Regions from separate parts of the Homo sapiens genome. Here region 1 is linked to region 2. The links are contacts of gene promoters, found by promoter capture Hi-C in human tissues and cell types (Jung and others, 2019). All regions are on one chromosome and are shown on one strand. Each heading gives the region's core, a stretch centred on a gene start or on the middle of the fragment in contact. The rest is flanking DNA. Distances are from core to core; before and after follow the strand shown.

Region 1 (3,206 bases), core at 229-2,728, 350 kb before region 2:
GCATGGAAGAAAGACCATGAAGGTGAAATTCACAGATCCCTGGAACAGAAACCTGACTCTACCACATATTAGTTGAGGGAACTTGAGGAAGCAAGTTAATGTTTCTGGAGCCACAACTGTTTCATACTTGTGAAAGCGTGCATCATTATACTGAGATATCCCTAGTACTGGCAATCCTCAGGGACTGAAGAAAATTGGGGAGTCAAAAATGATATCTAGAATTTTGCTGGTGCCATCAACTAGGAAAGTAGATAAAAGAAGATAAGCAGGTTTGAGGGGAAGAAAATGAGTTCAATTCTGAATATACTGAGTAACCTGTGGGAAAATCCAGAAACAGATGACTGGCAAGGTGTTGAATATTTAAGGAACATTCTAGGCTAGGCTAGAGTCAGGAGTCCTCGAACTGAGGCTGGATGAGATCATCCAGGGAGAATGTGCCAACTGAGAGGAACATGGGCCAAGAACTGAATCTGGGGGAATATAAACATTTTAGGGAAAGGTTGAGAACATGAAAGAGAAGGAAACATTTGAGATAAAAAGAAAATTAGGCCAAGGAAGTAAAGAGATATAAGAGTCAGGGAATAATAAATGGTGTCAAACACTGCAGAGAGGTTTAGTGAGTTAAGAACTTAAAAAAAATCTTAGACTTGGCCATTTGAGATGTTATTGGGAAGATCTTATAATATCATGAAAGGGGTGAGGATGCAGTCAGGCTTCAAGGATGGAGGAGTGGGTAGATATGTGTATGTGGTGAGTAAACCCTCCTCTTTACAATTTTCAGTGGCATGGGAAGCAATTAGACTACCTGGGGACAGGAGGTCAAGTGAGGATTCATTAGGATGGGAGAGGCTTTGAGTGTGTTTACAGACTATGGGAAAGGAACCTATATGAGAGGAAAGACGGAAAATACAGAAAAGAGAAAGGGTAACCAAAGGAGTGAAATTCCAGAGGAGGTAGAAAGGCACAGGGTCAAAGACAGGGGTGAGGGATTGGTCTTGAACAGTAGATGGGGCACCCTATTCTCTGAAATCAGCAGAATCTTTTATTCCAACTTGGTTCCATAGGCCAAACTTTGCAGGCTCAACAGTGTCTGGAATAGAAATGCATCTTCAGAGCTTGTATCAAAAATTCTTCTGGTAAAATCAGAGTTAGCAGAAATTGTCATATGATGGGACAATCCTGATCTTAAGTTGTGTCAAATAGTGTTATATGTAAAGAAACATTTACAACTCATTTGTCAATTTGGAAACAATTCAAAAGAGAAGCATCCCTCTGTAAAATAATAACACAGTTTTCTCTCCTTAACTAAGAAAGCACTTAAAATATGTTTAATTATTGTCAGAGATGATCGATATTATCATAATCTTGAAACATTCTTTAACATTTAAATGGCCATTATTAAATAGTCCCATTCCACAGGTAAATTTTTGTTATGATAAGATTGCACAAATCACACCCTGGAGAAACCAACAGAAACTAATTCCTAAAATTACCAATCAGTGGAATTTTATGGCTGAGGTGACTGGCTAATAACACACATCCTAGAATTCAGGTAAAAGCTGTCTATGTCTATACCCTATGTGGCTCAGAACTATGGAATCACAGCTTAGTACCTGCATGAGAACTTAGGACTGGAGAAAATTGCAAACATTATTGGGAACACAGGTACCCTCCATATCTAACCCGAGTTAAACCTGGAGAAAATGCTGGGTTTCTTTGTAAGCACCCCAATAGCTCACACTGATGCTCAAGTATATTTTATTTCTGTCTGTGTAAAAATCCAAGAGGGGCAAATGCTCTCAAAATTGGCTCTTTTAAAGATTATAATTTAGTACTTGCTGAAGTCCTATTTAAGATACTGAATATTTGAGAGACCATATAATCTTTGATTCTTCTGGATTCTCCAAGTTTAGTCTCTGTACCAAATTAGAGCACCATAAGCCTCTAAAGTAGCTGGAACATGTTATCTTCATTAATGCACGTATCATTATCAGTAATAATTTTATTTCCGTATTTGTTTGTTATGTGTTTCCCTAACAAAAAAACTAAGTTCCAACAATGTATATGGCTTGTCTGTTTTGTTCCCAAGGGCACGGAACAGAGCCCCGGCATATAGAAAACACTCAGTAACAATTTATCAAATTGTCAAATGAATAATTGCATGCTCGATTCCTTCCTTAACCCTCCATAATCTATCATAAATCATATTGAATTCATCCAATCCCCTTAATTTCCACTCCCACCACTGTAACTCAGACCTTCATTATTTCATAGCTGATCTGCCTGTTTCAGTTCTCTTTCCTTCTGGCCCAGCTTACATATTGTCGTCCCATTCACCTCTCTAAGCACAGCTATCATCACGTATCCTTACTCCCATTCCAGAACCTTCAGTAGTTCTCTACTGCTTCTCAAACAAACACCACACCTCTGAGTCTAACATTCTAAGCCCTCCAGGATTTGCTCCAGCTCACCCTCCCCAGCCTCATCTTCCACTGTTCCTCAGTCACTTCCCCACATTCCAATCAAATTAGATGACCTGGATTTTTCTTACAGAAATGGTCTATACTGCAACCTGTAATAAGTGACATGTTAGCTGTTAGCATAATCTTAATTTTCTAGATTGGAGGAATTGAGACCTTAAATGGTTAAATAGCATGCCCAAGATCACCTGGAATTACACAGGGATGGGATCAGAAATAAGATTTCCCAACTTTTGGTCTATTGCCAAGGCTACAAAAGAGAAATCTGATTTAGGAATGCTTAATTAAATTCCTTCTCCTCTAGGTAGCCATACTTAGAGAGGGGACAAGACCATACGTGCCCATCAATGACCCATCCCCTTGAGAAGGGCCCACCTCCCAGTGTCTCAAAGCATTTATCTCAATTTGATTTGGTAAATAAAATAACTGAAACATCATTTTGTTTCCTTATATTGTTGGGAAAAAATTTTTAACAACAAAATAAACCAAAGTTTTAAAATATGTAGTTTTTATTTAAAACAGAAAGCAGCATTTAGGCTTATTGTGCAAAAGCAGGAAATACAACTTATTAGCAATACTTCAAATCACACCTAATGAACATAAATCCTTCCGTAATGGTCTCTGTGCTGCACACCTGTTGAAAGTGTGTCAGCACAGTTTTGGCAAGGATTTTCTGCCAGGAGCTCATATAGGGCTGCGTGTGTATGTATCACTTAAGCTGATGGC
Region 2 (3,525 bases), core at 158-2,657:
TTACAGGTGTGAGCCGTGGTGCCCGGCCAGACTTCATTAAGCATCTTAAGGTCAGGGACTGCATTTTATTCATCCTTGTTTCAGAACACCCAGCAATGCCTGGTACACAGTTGACCTTGAGTGCAGTAATGATTGTTTTGGAGAAAGAAGAGGAACACAGTAGCATACAAGGGCCTCTAATTTTGTGTCAGGCCCTATCTTCCCCCTCCACTCCTTAGGAAGTGTTATTTTGACCTTCTTCCCTGCCTTGAGGAAATTTTAACCTGCACTGTAAAATCTGAGTACGTGGTTCCTCCACACCTAGTGTCCTAATCTCAAGCTATCCCCTCAAACAGGTCAGGGAGGAATTTTTTGGAGAACTTCTCCCTAAAGAAACAATAGTTGTCATCTCAACAGCCGCACCCCAATTTGCACAATCTGTGTCTGTGTTCACATTCTGCCTCCATCCAGTACACTGTACTCCAACTAGAAAAACTTGCTCCTCATGCTCAGCACGGGCGTCCATACTATCCTCCTCAGCCTTTTTTCAATGTGATCATTCTCTTGCCTAAGAACCAGCCCCCTACCCTGTTTCTATCTCCAGCTTAGTTGTTCCTCATTTATTTATTTATTTATTTATTTATTTATTTATTTATTTGAGACGAACTGTCGCTCTGTCGCCCAGGCTGGAATGCAGTGGCGCGATTTCGGCTCACTGCAACCTCTGCCTCCCGGGTTCAAACAATTCTCCTGCGTCATCCTCTCGAGTAGCTGGGACTGCAGGCGTGCGCCACCACACCCAGCTAATTTTTGTATTTTTAGTAGCGACGCGGTTTCACCGTATTGGTCAGGCTGATCTCCTAACCTCAGGCGATCCACCCGCCTCGGCCTCCCAAAGTGCTAGGATTACAGGCGTGAGCCACCGCGCCCGGCCTGTTTCTCTCTTTCAAGCCCGGCTCGGGTGTCCTGCCTGCTTTCTGCACTCTATCCCTACCAGTTCCAGGCTTAGAGCCTACCTGGAGCAAGAAACGCAGTGTACATGGCGGCTTCGCATGCATACTCAGAGAACCTAAACGTGTTTTCGATATGGTAGGTCCTCTCGCTGAGTGGAACCCACATCATTTTCTACCCTGCGGTGGCAGTTGCTTTGCAGTGCTCAGCGTGATGGGAACTGGCTTTCCGGAGCGAGTGAGTGTGGGCCCACCACTGAGGACCTGGTTCAGTGAGGCCGAGGTTTCGGGCAGGGGTTGGAGCTCGGAAGCTGGCCTCGAGCGAGCGCTGCCTGAGGGTAGGCCCCGGGCCCGCCCCTCCGAGCCGGCCTGCTCCAGCTGACAGTGGTGGGCTGAGGGGCGGGCCTCAGGGCTGGCCAGGGGCGGCCTGAGGTGGCTCAGGGCTGGGGCCGGATGCGAGGCATGCCGGGAGCCCGCACTTCCTCCTCGGGGGCCTCAGAAAACCACAGGGCGCGGGGCCAGGGCGGCGGCCCCCAGGGAGTTGGCAGGATGGCAGAGGGCAAGGCAGGCGGCGCGGCCGGCCTCTTCGCCAAGCAGGTGCAGAAGAAGTTTAGCAGGGCCCAGGAGAAGGTAGGTGGCCGGGCCTCGCTGTCTGTCTGGCCCACAGGGAGCCGAGGCCGAGGCCGAGCCCGGCCGGGCAGGAGGGGCGGGCAGGGTGCTCAGGGGCCCCGAAGGGTCTGGGCTGACGAGAAGGGTCTCCCGCTCTCCCAGGGAAACGGGAGCGAGGAGTGGGCTTCCATGAAAACTGGCAGATTGGAGAGAGGTCGGAGACCGCCACCCGATCTTGGGCAAGGATAAGGGAAGCTGGGGAGACAACAGTCTCTGGGCAGAACCTTCGACAACCCTCAGGCTGACCCAGAAAAGGTGAAAGAAAGGAAGTGATGGTGGTGGCCACCTTTGTATCAAATTTTGTGCTAGCAATCCAAAATTGGTATTTTACAGATGATGAAATTGGAGGGTAATTTTCCATAGAGGGCAATTTCCCCAAAAACAGCGATGCAGCGGATGCCAGCAGGCACCCCCCACCAAAGGCTTAGAATAATCCTGCATAGTTCTCCCCCTACCTGACCCTGCCTGGCCTCTGGGTGGTGTTTCAGCTGACGTAAGCAGGAGCCCAAATCTGCTTCTTCTACCCTCCCTTTGGCGTTGGGGAGTACACCTCCCAGGGTGATGAACCACATCTGTGTTCAGAGTGTGTCCTTGGTTAGTGTCAGGTAGCCCTGCTCCAGCACTGGCACTTAGGTGGGCTGCCCATCTATTACTTGCTTGGCAATCTAAATTGTGGGGACATTCTCTACACATTTTGATGGCATTTTTGTTTCTACCTGTACAGAATATTTTCTTTGCTTCTAACCTGAGCCTCTGCTCTCCACCTACCAACCCTCTAGTAGACAAGGCGGTTTGGGAAGACATGTCAGCCAGAAGAAAGAGCGAGGGAAGAAAGACAAGAAGGACCTGAGATAGAGTTTCGGTTTTCCTTTTTTTCTCTCTCTCTTTATTAAGCCCAACCTGCCTTCTACAACGGAGAAGTTTTGGTTTTCTAAGAGCTGATGGACTTAGAAGCATTTGGATGAACAGCTCTGCTTACCAACTGAAATATCCCTATTATCTTCTAAAAGTGGAGCACTGCTTTGAGCCCTGGGAAGGCTTAAAGGCAACCAGCTCTCCCGAGTTGATTTATCAGCAGAAAACTGATGGAATGTAGATGTAGCTCCTGACTTTAAGAGACCACAATGGAAGGGAGGTTATTTTCTATCATTTGAGGTCATGTGAAAGAGAGGAGGAAAAGGGAAAGAGTTCGTGTAGCCAGACTTCGTTACTTCACTTACCCTAACTTCACCTTGATCCTAGTTTCAGCCTCTCTGAAGACTTACAAATCTGGTAGACCCGAGAGCAGGGCCTATGGGAAGGTCTAGCTCGAAACAGTGTGGGCGAGCAGGAGGTACTGGAGAGAAGGCCACACTGTGGTTGAAAAAAAAAAAAACCCTAAAAGACAAAACACTCATGAATGATAGTAATTTTAAAAAGACATACCAGCCAGGCACAGTGGCTCACTCCTGTAATCCCAGCACTTTGGGAGGCCAAGGTGGGAGGACTGCTTGAGCCCAGGAGATCAAGACTGCAGTGAGCAGTGATCACACCACACCACACTCAAGCAGAGGGAGACTCTGTCTCAAAAAATAAAAATAAATACATAAAAATAAAAGACATACAATTGATTGTATTTCACTCTTGCATCTTCTGTCTTCATCTAGCCTCTCGTCAACACTAAAACCTTGCTTTGGGCTTTCACTCCTTTGTAAGCATAGACTCCAAACCTTGGCTAAATAATGTCCTGCTCTGGGCTTCAGATCTTGCACCTGTAAAATGAGAGGGTTGATGTTCTTGATGAAACTCAATATGGTAAGAACACTAAATTGAAAAGCTGTCACATTAGACTCAGAGTCAAATACTTCCCAAAGACAGAACCAGTCTCTCAGGTTCTTCTGGCCTGAACCCTGAGGAAGTAGAGAAAGAGGAGCAAACTCAAATCTGC

Evidence for each region. The method cuts DNA at HindIII sites, captures the fragments that hold promoters and counts their contacts. A contact is called where the count stands out against the background at its distance.
Region 1: a contact is called between a fragment that was not itself captured here and the fragment with the promoter of BIN2 in region 2, in 1 of the 25 tissues and cell types used here (mesendoderm cells).

What each region holds. Positions count from the first base shown.
Region 1 is chr12:51,669,776-51,672,981 of GRCh38, reverse strand. All of the region lies in intron 2 of SCN8A (sodium voltage-gated channel alpha subunit 8), which reads right to left. Among named protein-coding and RNA genes, the nearest start is that of SCN8A, 80 kb to the right of the region's middle. The HindIII fragment of the contact is 9,676 bases long and covers 1-3,206 here.
Region 2 is chr12:51,322,056-51,325,580 of GRCh38, reverse strand. BIN2 (bridging integrator 2) reads left to right here and starts at 1,407. Exons shown (of 13, transcript NM_016293.4): 1 at 1,407-1,559. The coding sequence starts at 1,479. It overlaps LOC105369767 (a long non-coding RNA gene), which reads left to right and starts at 1,573. Exons shown (of 2, transcript XR_944957.3): 1 at 1,573-1,853; 2 at 2,378-3,213. RefSeq lists a silencer at 1,172-1,661 and an enhancer at 1,692-1,881. The HindIII fragment of the contact is 13,760 bases long and covers 1-3,525 here.